Regions from separate parts of the Homo sapiens genome. Here region 1 is linked to region 2. The links are contacts of gene promoters, found by promoter capture Hi-C in blood cells and fetal thymus (Javierre and others, 2016). All regions are on one chromosome and are shown on one strand. The core of a region is centred on a gene start or on the middle of the fragment in contact, and the rest is flanking DNA. Distances in the headings are between cores, read along the strand shown. Region 1 overlaps TTC12-DT (TTC12 divergent transcript). Region 2 holds the start of NCAM1 (neural cell adhesion molecule 1).

Evidence for each region. The method cuts DNA at HindIII sites, captures the fragments that hold promoters and counts their contacts. A CHiCAGO score of 5 or more calls a contact.
Region 1: a fragment that was not itself captured here is called in contact with the fragment with the promoter of NCAM1 in region 2 in 1 of 17 cell types (M1 macrophages); the score reaches 5.6 in M1 macrophages.

What each region holds. Positions count from the first base shown.
Region 1 is chr11:113,282,086-113,288,972 of GRCh38, reverse strand. It overlaps TTC12-DT (TTC12 divergent transcript), which reads left to right. Exons shown (of 5, transcript NR_199709.1): 2 at 4,383-6,887. Among named protein-coding and RNA genes, the nearest start is that of NCAM1-AS1, 12 kb to the right of the region's middle. The HindIII fragment of the contact is 5,832 bases long and covers 1-5,725 here.
Region 2 is chr11:112,957,542-112,964,145 of GRCh38, reverse strand. NCAM1 (neural cell adhesion molecule 1) reads right to left here and starts at 2,726. Exons shown (of 20, transcript NM_181351.5): 1 at 2,482-2,726. The coding sequence starts at 2,533. It overlaps NCAM1-AS2 (NCAM1 antisense RNA 2), which reads left to right and starts at 686. Exons shown (of 3, transcript NR_120563.1): 1 at 686-936; 2 at 2,670-2,779; 3 at 3,295-4,867. RefSeq lists an enhancer at 2,006-2,783. The HindIII fragment of the contact is 5,394 bases long and covers 1-4,576 here.

The sequences.
Region 1 (6,887 bases), core at 1,560-4,059, 320 kb before region 2:
TGCAGCTAAGAACCCTGGCTAATATGAATACTAATGCTGATGTTTCACATGCCAAGGATAGGGCCTCTTTAAAATTCAAACACTTCTGTGAGGTCTCATTTTAGAGATGAAGCAAGTATACTCAGAGACTTTAAGTACTTTGCCTATGGTCACACAACTTGGAAGCACCAGAGCTTAGATTCCAAAGCAAGATATGTTGCTTTTTGGAGCCTATGATCTTTCCAATGTGCTGGACCTTGAGTTCCATCAGGACAGGGATGTTGTCTATCGTATTCATCACTGCACCTCCATTACTCAGCGCATATGTGCCGACATAGTAGGTGCTCAGTAAACATTTCACCTCAGTAAATACTGAACTAATGAGTAACTAAAAATGCCACAATCTCTTATCTTGGAGTGTGTTTGGACTTGGGTCTTCCCTGGGGGCAAGATGGGGGTAAAGGGCAGGTAGGCTTTGCCACTTGAAAGTCTCCCCTCCCTCTTGAGGCCCCCCTGCTCCTTGGTACACCATGTCCTGCACGCTCCAGCACTTCTGTGCATTCTGACCTTTGCCAGCTCAGCTCACTGCCCGTACTTGGAAGGTGACCTGGAACAATGGCTGTGATTGTGTTGGCTGTTTGCTTCCTCTGCCTTCAGTGGTCCAGGTCTCGGTGGGAGATCAGGGCTGTTGCTATCAAAGCCATCTAGAATCTGAACAGGGTCGTCTGTGCATTGATGCCTCAGTCTCCTCTCCCCAGGCCTGAAGAGCGGCTGCCTGGCCTCTGCTTAAGGGCACTGACTGTCCACTTTTAGAGCCACTCCAAGAAACAGAATGGTCTGTTTTTCGTGTGTATAAAACAGACTTCCCTACAATGTTTGTTCTACTTGAGCCCTCAGGAGTATTAAATATTAAGTCCACCCTCTTTTCTAAACAACAGTCTTTGTATACATGAAGACAGCTGTTCAAAGTGTATGTTTTTCCTCCCACCCTCCCATCTGCTTTCACGGTTTCTTCCCCAAGCTCAACATACTCAACTCCTCTACATGCTCCTCATCAGACATGGCTATGAGTTCCTTCAGCCTCCAGTGCTTCTGCCCTGGACGGGCCCCCTGGCCATCACTTCTCCTTGGGTATAGCATGGGACCTGGAGGCTACACCACAGCAGGGCAGAGCACCACAGCAGGGCTACACCACACCAATGCTGGCTTATACATTGCTCCCTATGGAGACTTCATGACTGGGTTCTAATCCTGTCTCTGCCTCTTCCTAGCTGTGTGACTCTCAGCAAATGATCGAACCTCTCTTGCCACGGTTTCTTCATCTGTAAGATGGGGTTAATAATAGTATCTACTCAGAATTGTTCTAAGTGCTAAATGAATAAATATTTGTGGAGTGCTTAAAGCATGGCCAGACGTAGTGTTATAGAAGTGTTACACATAAATAAATCAAACTGTCAGTTTCAGTATCACAAGTATTTTTGACCATCTGCAATGCATCATCTCTCATATTGAGTTTATAGTCCATTTAGACCCCAGTCTTTTATTTTTCTATTTCAAATATTCTCTGTTGCTGAGCCCCATTGTCTTCAGCGTGCACTTTTCGTGGTTGGATTTTTTGAGAGTGTGCAGGAGTTTCCATCTGTCCCTGTGGCATTACATCATCTCAGCTGCTGTTTCCCCACACAGCTGAGCTGAGCTCCTTTGGGGTGCTAACTGCCGTCCAGCATGTGTGGTGAAGTGTGCTGGGTTTTGGGAATTGTCTTGCCAACATCCAGACACATGGCTGTGTCTACAGCATTTCCTGTCTGTCTACATGGAACCGCAGAAACTCCTGAAAGAGTTTCCCCAGCCTCAGTTGGATGGTGCTAGGACCTCAGGCCAGGCGTTTCATGGTGGAGATGTTCCCCAGCCGCACACCTGCCAGTTTCTCTATGTGCGGTCTAAGGACCACATGCAATGGAATCTTCCTGCCCCAGACCCAAGTCATCACACTTGTGGTATGGCTTCCAGGTCCCATGCCATAGCCAAGGTATGGATCTCTGGGGCTGGAGTCCATGAATGTGCAGTTTAAACAGTGCCTCGGGAGACTCAGAAGGGTGATGTAGGGGATGATGGAGGAGCTTGGCCAAGTGTGGTGGGGAGGAGAGTTGCTGCTGCATCCCAGCCTGGGTCTGCCCATGACAGACCCTCTCCATGTCTCAGAGGACGGGCTTTCTTTCCTCCTTCAGCATCAGGACATGGACTACAGCAGGGCTTGTGGGCTAGATTCCTGCGCTCCAAACTGAGGCTCCCTAGGGAAGATCCAACACCTGTTGGTGTGAGCGATCTTCCAAGCCTACTTCCTCATGCTCACAGCCACCTTTCCAACAGCCTGTGTATGACCATCCCCATGGGAAGCACTCTAAACAGACCCCTGTGGGTTATCATGTTTTGAGCTGGGGTTGGAAGCTCAGTTTCAGGAAGGAGAAACAGCACAATGCTCTCCCTGGTCACTGACACCTAGACCTGGGGACCAGTAGACCCTTCCCAGATCACACTTGGCCTCCTCTTTGCTCTTTCTCAGTCTCTCAACCCAGAGGTTTTCCCCCTTAGGGAGGAGACTCCAAGCAAGGAGGCTCCAAGGCTTTGCATGGTCAGCCTTGGGCCTCAGATAACCACAGCTTTGGGACACGCAGGTAGACCCAATAACAATAATCCTGCCTTTCAAGGTCCTCTAACTCAAGTCTTCCCAGCTCTTCCCCATCGTGAAGGTGCTGCTCACTGACTGGACATTGCCACCAGCCTGGAGGAAGGAGGAGGTGGTGACCCATGACCAGGGGCTGGGCAGGCAGAGCAGAGAACCTCTCTAGGCACATGTGAGCCTTGTGGGTAGAGGTGTGGACTTCCTCCAGGGTACTGGACAGTGGGCACTGCTGTGTGGCTGTCAAAGGCATCTTCTTGGCCAGCTGTAGGCCCTGTTTGCGCACACACAGATGAACATGGGCAGGTAACCATGGCTGGTATGCACGTGTAATCATTTCACTCATGCACTCATTCACTCTGTCATTCATGAGACTGACAAATATCAAGTTCTGGCTTTGTAGCAGGTGCTGTATGTGGTGCCGGGATAAAGTAGTAATGAAGACAGACACAGAACTTGCCCTGGAGGAGTTCAGAGATCAGTGAGAAAGAGAAACAAATCAGAGACTAAACAAAGCATGAGGTCTTAGGATATGTTAAAAATATTTACAGACTCTATTCTGTGAACACCAGCCATAGTGTTGGAGCAAAGCCCTGGAGATCCTCTCTGGGCCAGGTAGAGCCACCTACAAATTCCTTTGTGAGGGGCTGGGGTGACAGCAGCTACTTTTAACAGCAAAGAAGCATTGCAATATTTTAATAACCTGATATGACCAAACCAGCACGGGCCAGCTGTATAATTGGCCCTCAACAGAACATAAAACAGCAGAATGCAAGCTGGATCAGGTGTCAGGAAAGGCATACCTGAGCCTTTGAACTCAGATATCTGAACTAAGACCTAACGATGGAGTAAAAGTCAAGGATTCGTTGCAGGCATTGGCGGGTGCTAGAGAGACTTCCAGAGAAAACAAGAAGTGTTTGCACCTGTGGAAACACAGAGATGAGAAAGCACATGGCATAGCCAAGAAAATACCATCATTTCACTATATATGGCATGTAGCATGTGAAGAGAGAATAGTGTGAGATGGGCTTGGAGAGGTCATTAAGGCATCTCATCGGCAACATTAAGAGGGTTGAGGATGAGATAGACCCTAATTTGATGGAGATTAAATTTCTACCACTGCATAGAATGACAGATTGAAGGAGAAGTTAAGTTCAATAGTAGAAAAAGCATGCACTTCATATTTATTGAGAGTCTTACCTACCACACGTTTGAAGAGAAGTAGCCAGCAGAGAAGGTCTTTAAGTACTTGGAACACAAGCTCCCTCATGATCTTAGGTCTTGGCTTAAATGCCACCTCCTCAGAGAAGTCTTCCCTAATTGTCCCATGTAAAATGGCAGCTCCTCCTCATGAGTTACCTCTTTGCCTCATATGTGCCTGTCTCTTTGCAGCACTTGTCATCATTGGCTTATTGTATATAGTTATTTAGAACGTAGGATCTATGAGGGTGATCTTTCTTTCCTCAGCACCTAGAACAGCTTTGGCCTTGGCAGGTGCTCAATAAACATTGGAAGGGATATTGAATGGATGAGAAAGACCCCATTGAAGTAGAACACAAAGGCCAGGGCCCAGGGAAAGGGATTGCTGTAGAAAGGGAGAGATACTGCTTCTGTTATAACAGGGGCAGAGGAGGAAGGGGCGACCTGAACGCAGGTAGGTGTGTAGATTTGGTGTTGGGAATGGAGGTCGTTCCTTTCTGATGGCTCCTCTTTTCTTTTACAGGAAGGAAGCAAGACTGGTAGCTGAGATGAAAGAGGTGGTGGAGGAATGAATTGGTTTGGAAAAGTGAAGACATTTTTGTAGAGGAGAACTGAATGAGTTGCTGACAAATGTCAGTAGGACTGCCAGGCAGTGCTGAGGACCTTGTTGAGAGTGACCTTCAATATTGCTAATAATGAGCCTGGTCATGTGGTTTTTCTCAAATAGCATCCAGCTGACCAGGTGTAACTAAAGAGGTGGCAGCCAGGAGATTTTCCAGGGCTAGAGTTCTACAAGACAGAGGCAATGTGAGAGCATCAAGGCAAGGAAGTTTCTGATATCATTGACTGTGTGGCTGCCATGCTAGACCTGGGAATTGAGGCTGGATATGGACGGAGGTGAAGGGAGGATGTGGCAAATAGAGGAAAATCTAGGAGTCAATAACTAGGCAATGACAAAGAACTGATGTATGAAACTAGTTGGGTGAGTGAGCTAGATGGATCCAAGGGAGTGTTGGAGAGTGGGGAATCTGGACTCTGGACTCTGACTTAGGTGAATGGCATGATCAGCCCAGAGTTTGACCAAGAGCAAAAGTGGCTTACGTGGAGTGAAGAGGAAGGTCATTGGAGATGAGGAGGTCAAACTGAGGGGCCTTTGTGTTGGAGGAATTGCCCATATAATGTACTGAAGTCACTGAGGATGATGGTGGACCTTCAGGAGAGAGGAGGATCATGGGCTAAAGATTAAAGTCTTCACGAGTAAGTGCATATTCAGGATTCTGCACTTGGCATTGGCAGCCTAGGGGACTCAATGGCATGATCCTTGGTGGAACATCGGCCTGACAACAAAGTGAGGGAATGATAGTCTGGAGGTGACAATAAGGGGCAAGTAAGACACAGCCCCTGTGCCCAGATCCTAGGGCACTCAGGGTGCAGAATAAGTAGCAGTGTCCAGGAATCAGTGTCTGGAGAAGAGGAGAACCAAGTAAGGAAAGGTGATGCAAACACATTGACAGGGAAGGTGAAAGCATAGAGAAGTTTGTTGATCGTCTTATGGGAATCCCAGAACCTGGCAGAATAATTTAGGAGGGAGGAGAGGAATGGAACTGAGCTTTCTCTGCCTGGATGTACCTCTACCAGTTTTCCATCCCTCAGAATCTTTTATTACATGACCACATCTAATAGGGAAAGCAGCCATGTTCTCACCCTACCTTTCTTTCCTTAGCATTATTTGAGAACAAGTCATATTGGTAGGGAGATGGCAAAAATAAATAAACCCTAATGCTTAGTTCTGCATAGAAGCTACTCCATGGTGATTGCCTAGCACAGAGGTGCATGCTGCCACACTCCACGGAGCTTCTACAAGCTTCCAGGAATATTCAGTGAATCAACAGCATCATGCAAAGTACTGGACATGTGTTGCCCTGCCTGGGAGAACATTTTCCTGAATAGCATGCCAAGCTCTAGCCTTGTCTCCCTAAGAATCTCTGCTGCCACCACTACTGGTCCCACATCCCACGACCATCATCCTGCTCCTCTCAAGACCATGTGACCCCATTCCCAAGAGTTCCAGTGCTCAGCCAGCAACCCCTGACTTACCCTCTGAGATGACAGCACATATAGCTCCACGAAAATGTGTCAGGAACATGAGAGGCCCCATCCCTCCCTGGGTCTCTGGTCAGAGGAAATGCCTGTGCTTCATTTACCATGATCTAGCCTGGACCCAGGCAACTGAGCTCTGCTTAGAGAATGCCATTAAAGCTACTGTAAATGGTGTTCATCTTTAAAATATAGCCAAACATGTTTAACAATTCCAGGCATGGAAGCAAAATGAAACATAATTCGCGTGAGCTCAGGGAGGTGGGAGAGAATGTGGATCATTTTAGTACCCACAAGTAGTTCAGCAGGGCTGGAGCATATGTAGAAGTTTTAGGAGTGCTAGAACTGGGGCTGGAGGAGTAAGCAAGACCTGACCAAGATGGGTTGTGTTAGTCTTGATAAAAAGCTTGCATTCTCTCCTGAGGGTCTTTAGAAGCCATTGAAGATCTTAATGGGGGCAGCCAGAGATGGGATGAGATGCCCATTCTGCACAGGTCATTCTGTCCAGAGTGAGGGCAGTGGATTGGAGGCCATCAGGTACAATCTAATGCAGCCTCCCTTCATCTAGCTTCTACCATCCAAGCTCAGCTTATATGAGACCTTCACCTGGAGGGATGCGTAGGTGTCTTGCTTTCACTGGTAATGTTAGCGTGACTCTCCACCCCAACACTCAGAGGCACCCTACTCTGTCTGCCCCAGTAGCACCAGGGTTAAATCAGATGAAGGGGGTATGAGGGTCTGGAAAGCAATGGGGGACACTCGACAGAGTCGCGGTGATCATGGAAACACCCAGGGCAACAAGGATCCCAGGAAATCTTTTTCTAGCTACAAGACAAATTTATTTTCTAGACTCCAGAGTATACCCATGCCTTCCAGGCAACAGGACAGGTAGACACAAGTTCTCTTAAGGGATTGGGAAGAGGAGGCCACC
Region 2 (6,604 bases), core at 1,477-3,976:
AAAAACAAAAAAAAAACCTCAGATATATATACATATGTATATATACTTGTTGTTATGTTTTCATTTTCATTCTAACCCTTTGACTTGAATTCTTTGATTTTTTTAAAAAAAAACTATGGTACAAAAGACATTTTAATGGGAAATTATTTCTCTTTGGAAAACCATTCAACTTCTTTCTTTTGTTAAGCAACCTTGTATGTGTTTCACGTTCTGCCTTCTTCCCATCCTCAAGGTACCGGGCCAGGAAAGAGGTCGCTTTCATTCCAGGGAACACTGGTTAGAATGCCTCCCCTGCCTGGGCATCCAGGAACATCCCAGTGGGAATTCCTGGGCCTGCAACTTCCACGGGATCCAAATACTGATGACTGTACCCATCACGATGATGGAAAGGACCGCCAGGCGATCCCCCAAAAGGCCCACCAAATATCCGGGCTCCATTGTCACGCTCCCACCCGGGGGCGAGGATGTCTCAAAAACACCCCCCTTCCCCCGCCCCATGTGGACAGGTCGCGTCGCGGCACCCACGGGCACCGCGGAAAGGGGCATAACCGGGGTGGCCCCCGCCCAGGTGGCAGCGGAGACCCAGGGCCAGGCGGACTAGGCTTGGTCCCCACCCCTCCTCTCCGGGCCCTGCCACGGCCCCGCCCCGCCGTCAGTAGAGCCCCCGGCCCGCGGTCGGCCGGTCAGCGCACGCGCGTAGGTGTGCCTGCCAGGATGCCCTCCCCGGCGACGCGCTCAGGCCCGGATTCCGCGGCGCGAGAGTGAGCGCTGGCGGGGGCGGTGGGATGCTCCAAGTCGGCGTGAAAGAGGCGAGAGTGGGCGAGCACGGGCGGCCGGACCAGGAGCACTCCCGGTGACCACCTAGTCTCCATTTTATTTCCTCGGAAACTGCCGGGCAGGCGGGGGACCGGCCGCAGGGCGGGGTTTCTCTTGGCGGTGAGTGAGCGAGACCGTTAGGCTGAAGCACCGGGAGACTGTCCTGGCAGCTCCTGGCCGCCACCCGCGCCGCAATAAAAGCCTCTCGCGGCTTCCCGCCCAGCCAGCTTCGCACTGATTGGTCGCCGTGGGAGGGACCCGAGTTGGCTGGAGGCGGCGGCCGAGCGCTGCTCTTGTGCCGCCCGCGGAGGGGGCGCACTGGGTGCTCCCTGGCCCGCCCCGTGCGCTCCCCAACCGGGGGTCGGCCGTCCAGGGCAGGTACAACGGTACCTGGAGCTGCGACCGCGACACACAGCCCCTCCGCCCGGCTTTCCTCGATCGCTTCCCAGCACACGCCCCCCGCCCAGAATGTCCGCCCAACCCACCCAGCTCTCTGCGGCCCCTGCTTTTCTTCCTTCCCTCCCGTCCATCAGAGCCAAAGCGCAAATCCTTGGGTGGAGGTGGGGGGATGACAGCTGGAGGGGAGGGTGGGCACGCACAGAAGAATTTTCCAGGGAGGCCGGGATGGAAATAGCCAAAATGAAATGCACCTCCCTGCACACTGCCGAGGTTCTCTGGGCGGCGGCGCAACCCCCGCCACCCGCGGCAGCATCACTACTGTCTTCCTCCCAGCTCCCTATTGTTCACACTTTGCCAGGATCGGGAACCTCGCCCAAAGAAAGGAGACAGGGCGAGGTGTTTCGGGCGGCTACCTGCCATTCTTCTCCCGCCCCGTGCAACACTGGGCACGCGGCGCGTGTAAAGACACACGCGCGCACACGCGCGCGCACACACCAGGCAGCCCCAATCACGCCCTCCTCGCCCTCCGCCCCTCCGCACTTCCTCCTGTCAAAACGCGGCGCTCGACCCTCCCATCCTTCAGTGCTCGCGGCCGAGGGTAGGCTTTGCAACTAACCAGCAATTTGGCAAATGAAAAACTAACGTCATGTCGACTGGGGTGCAACAACGGTCACACCAACAACAACGGCCGTGCGATTCTGCCCATTTTGCCCCATTTTGCAAACCGTTATTCTTCTGGGGCGGGGGAAGCAAAGCAGCGATCCTGACTTTATTAGACCCAGGAATATAACGATCTGGGGCGGCTGCCCTAGCCTTATTGTTCACTCTTCCCGGAGCCGGGGCTGACAAGCCACTTCCCCCTCGGAATCCGAGCCCGTGCGGCGGCACCACCCGAGCCGCGACCTCCCCCGCCCCGCCGCCCGCCTTTGGGGAAGGAGCGCTGCCCATCACCAGCGCGGCCGCTGAGTCCCCAGGAGCCGGCCGGCTCTGCTCCCACCGCCGCGGGCGCACAAAGTGGGAAGGGCGGACGCGCCGGAGGGGCGCCGGGCGCTGGCGGCTCGGGGAGGCAGCCCCGTGCAGCGCAGCCCTGGAGGGAGCGGGGTTCGGCTGGGCAGCAAGGGCGACGCGCTCCTTTCACAGCTAAACGAAAATGACCAGCCTTAGCAGTCCACGTAAAACCACCCAAAATAATAGCGTTCCTCCTAGGAGTAGGAGGAAGGGGTAATTAGCAAACCAGATTGAGAATTAAAAAAAAAAAAAATGTACCTGCAGTTCCCAGGAAAAACAAAGTCCAGATGAGATCCTTAGTTTGCAGCATTGTAATCTGCTGGCTGGGAGGGATGTTCTTGCCGCGGTAAATTCTGTGCCCCCCCCCCTGCAGCGAGTGTGGACGGCGGCTGAGCGACAGACCTAGGGGCAGACAATTGCCAGGCTGAGTATGATTATTTTTGCAGAATTGTTTCCTGCCAGCGGCAGCCGAGCTGCGTTCACGCGCTGATCGGAGAATGAGTGACAGTCCCAGCCTCAGCACACTCGCAACTCGGAGATCCTTGCGCTGGCCCGGGTTCGTTTTGATGGAACTGGGATGGGAGCGAGGAGCGGGGGGCGGGGGTGAGAACCTCACTGTGTCCTTCCACCACGCCGGCCACAAATAGTGCCGAACATCAAGGAGGTAAGAGAGACAGGGGAGGCAGATGCGGAAGCCTGCAAAACGCGGCCTGGAGCTTTTGGGGGAGCCGGGCTCTTTCACACGCAGTCTCCCTGGGAGAGCTGGGATTTCTTTTCACACTTCTACCCTACGCCTTCGCAGGCGCTCCTGCTACCCAGCCTTCCTTAATCAGCAGTTTGCATATTTTGATAACTAGTAAATAATAAAAGCAAAATTTTAGATTTGGTTAGGTAAAGTTGTCAAATCCCTCCATTTCGATTCTAAGATCCTTGCAACACAAGGATAGCCCAGGACTTTAAGTGCGGGAAATTAGAACTTTGGAGAGGGATGGGGGTTGCCGTTGCTGGGTGTTGTTTGGATATTGTTTGTTTGTTTGTTTTATCCTAACTGTGAAGTTTGCTCTCCCACAGAGAGACATACAACACCCTTCAGCAGATCCCCTGGGAAGGAGGTGGGAAGAGACTTAAGTTAGAAGAAAACTCCGATGTTTGGAAGAGATTTCCAGAAATAACCCGAAGAAAATGTTTTCCTGTTTATAAATTCTGAAATCTGTGGTCTCTTTATTAAAATAGCCAGGCTTTTATATAGGTATTATGATATAGAAGCGTCATTAAATAATATTTTCTTACATGGGGACGTGACCTTAATTCTTAAAGATATTAATGTATAATATTACTGAGGTACCAACACAATAGGCTTTAATTAAAATTCCACCCGTGTTTTCAAAAGTAGGGGGTGGAGAAAGCGGGGTGAAAAGAATCATGTCTCAGCACCTGAAGGCTTGGGTATGTAAGGAACTAATGTGAGAAAGGTGTTCTAGATGTCAGGTTAACCCATTAGCCTAGAACACTGAAACCCTCTAACAGAGGAAGTCTGCATAAGTTCAAAGGCATTAAAGCACTAATGTTACCGGGTACTCCGTTTTTCTTCAAAGGTCGGCCTCCCCACTCCTGTAGCAGGTTTTTTGTTTTGTTTTGTTTTGTTTTGTTTCTGTTTTGTTTTTTTGAGATGGAGCCTCGCTCTGTCGCCCAGGCTGCAGTGCAGTGGCGCCATCTCTGCTCACTGCAACCTCTGCTCCCGGTTCAAGCGATTCTGCTGCCTCAGCCTCCTGAGTAGCTGGGATTACAGGCGCGCGCCACCACGCCCAGCTAATTTTTGTATTTTTAGTAGAGACGGTGTTTCACCATGTTGGTCAGGCCGGTCTCGAACTCCTGACCTCGTGATCTGCCCACCTCAGCCTCCCAAAGTGCTAGGATTACAGCCGTGAGCTACCGCACCCAGCCGCTGTAGCAGTTTTTAAAAGTCCATCCTCTACTGTCAGGACATCCATCCTTATTGGACAGGCCCCATCTCTTCCCCACTTTCCTCCTCTATAATAGACCAAGTGGGCCACACCAGTACAGTGTAATTAGCTTGGACCCCTGAAAAGTATTTCTTCCCCCAAGTAAATCTTCCACAACGTTTACTTTGGGCTATTTCTCTCATTCCAAGTATAAACAATTCAAAAGTACAGAAAAGTAGAAAGAACTAAAAATAACCCCAAATCCCACAGATTCCAGAGATACTCATAGATTTTGTCTTCTGTATGTGCATATGATTTTTATAATTGACATATTATAGTAGCAATTTGAATCCTGCTGATTTTGCCTAACATCAGTATAAGCATTTATTCCTCTGGATCATTAAAAAGCTTTTCTAGATATTTTTATAGCTATGTAATATTTCTTCATATGGATGATTTTGCAATGGTTTCCCCATTTTTGCATATTTATATTGTTTGTGGAGTTTGATAATATAAATAAGGCTTTTTTGAACATCTTTCAACAAATATTTGCGGAGCAACCACTGGGTTTAGCCCTGTGCTAGATGCAGTGAATTATATACGTCTTTTTTTAATGGTTGCTGTATTTAAGTGTCTTTGATTTCAGACTTCTGCTTCTAACATCTAAAATCACCACATTAAATATTACAGATTTATGTAAATGAATGTTATCAGACTCTTTCCTTAAAAAAGAGGTTTTGATGGTGAGGAAAGATAGAGAGAACAGGCAGGGGGTAGAGTGGGGAGAGTGAAGGTTGGGGCCCCCAAAATAAAAATTTTTCCAATTTTGCCCCTAAGAGTGAGAGACACATTCTTCCCTGCAAACCTCCCTCCTTATAGTCCTGTCAGTAGAATTAAAAGACTCCTCACTATTTTTCTCCCCAAATGTCCCTATTTTTAGCTTTTCAATGTAGGCAAGTGTGGAAATCCAATCTCACTTGAGTATGACTGAATTTCTTTTTTTTCCCTCTCTCTCTCCAGCCCCTCCCTACCCCGTGTGGTTGTTGATCTCTGTTGTAATGATTCATTCTAGAATGCTGCCCCAGTCATTCCAGTCCACACTCCCAGTATCACTCCCAAATTCTTTTAACAGGATATGTCACTTGTCTCCAATTCTGTATATCTCCGCTAGTCGGTGCCTACATCTGTGAGCTCTGTTGCGTTTCAATCCCTTCCTGATCCTCATTTTAAAATGGACAAAACTGTGGCCCTCACTGGACCTCTCTCCCCAGAGAGAGGCCCAGGCTGTCAGGCACACATTAATGAGCATCTACAAAGTGAACATCCATGGGATTGAGGCAGAGGAAGGAGACTCCAGACTGTGCTTTAGAGAGAAAGTTCTTTAGAGAGGAAGCAGAGAATGGTCCAAGAAGACAGCCATGGCAAGGAGACAAGCTAGGAGGCCATGATAGCTCTGGATAGGGTGACAGGGACTAATTAAGAAAGCGACAGTGGGAAAGGAGGCAAAAAGGAGCCCAGATTTGCAATTCCAAGATAAGATAAGAACAGGTGGACCTGGGTATGTTGTGAAGATGGAAGTATGAGGCAGAGGAAGAAATCCAAGTTCCTTTCATTCATTCAACAAATATTTATGGATTCTCAACTAAGTGCCTGGCACTGCTCTGGACACTGGGGATGTAGCCGTGGACAAAGTAGAGCCTTTGCCCTCATGGGATTTCCTTCTTATGGGGGAAGACAGAGAATAAATCCTTAAACATTTAGTAGTGTACAGATGGTGATAAGTGCTAAGGAAAGCAATAAGGAGAGATAAGGGGACAGAGAGTCTGGGGCGGAGAGGGATTACCATTTTGTTTAGTGGAGCTATACGGGTGTATGTGATACAGATCTTGAGAAAGTGACAACCGCTAAGGGTCCAGTGTGGGCAATTGAATAGTTGCTGGTAACATTGACAGGGAGCAGAAGAAGAGGGGCAGATTCAGACCAGGTGATAAGCAAAGAAGCAATGATGTCAGCTCTGCACATGCTAAGTCTGAGATGTTTCAGAGACATCCAAGTGGAAATGTGTGGAAGACAGACAGAGAGGGCCCAGAGAACATCAATGTTTAAGGTACAGGCAGAAGGACTTATCAATGAAATACTGAAAAACAGACAGCTAGAAAGAAAATTGAAACATGACAATGTCACAAAACCTAAAGAAGAAAGCTTTGAGGTGGTCAAAAAAGAGGAAGATTTAAAAGAATTTCCTGAATTTGACCATTGGAAAGTCCTTAGTGGCCCCTGGGGGAACAGTATTCATGGAATGGAGGGAAAAGGAGACATCATGGTCCCAGAAATGAAAGGGAGGGGAGGAGAGAGAAGCCAGGGGTGTGGACTACTCTCTCCAGCAGTGTGATGTTGAAGGAGTAGTGGGATAATGGCAGGGAGGCAAGCTTGTGGGA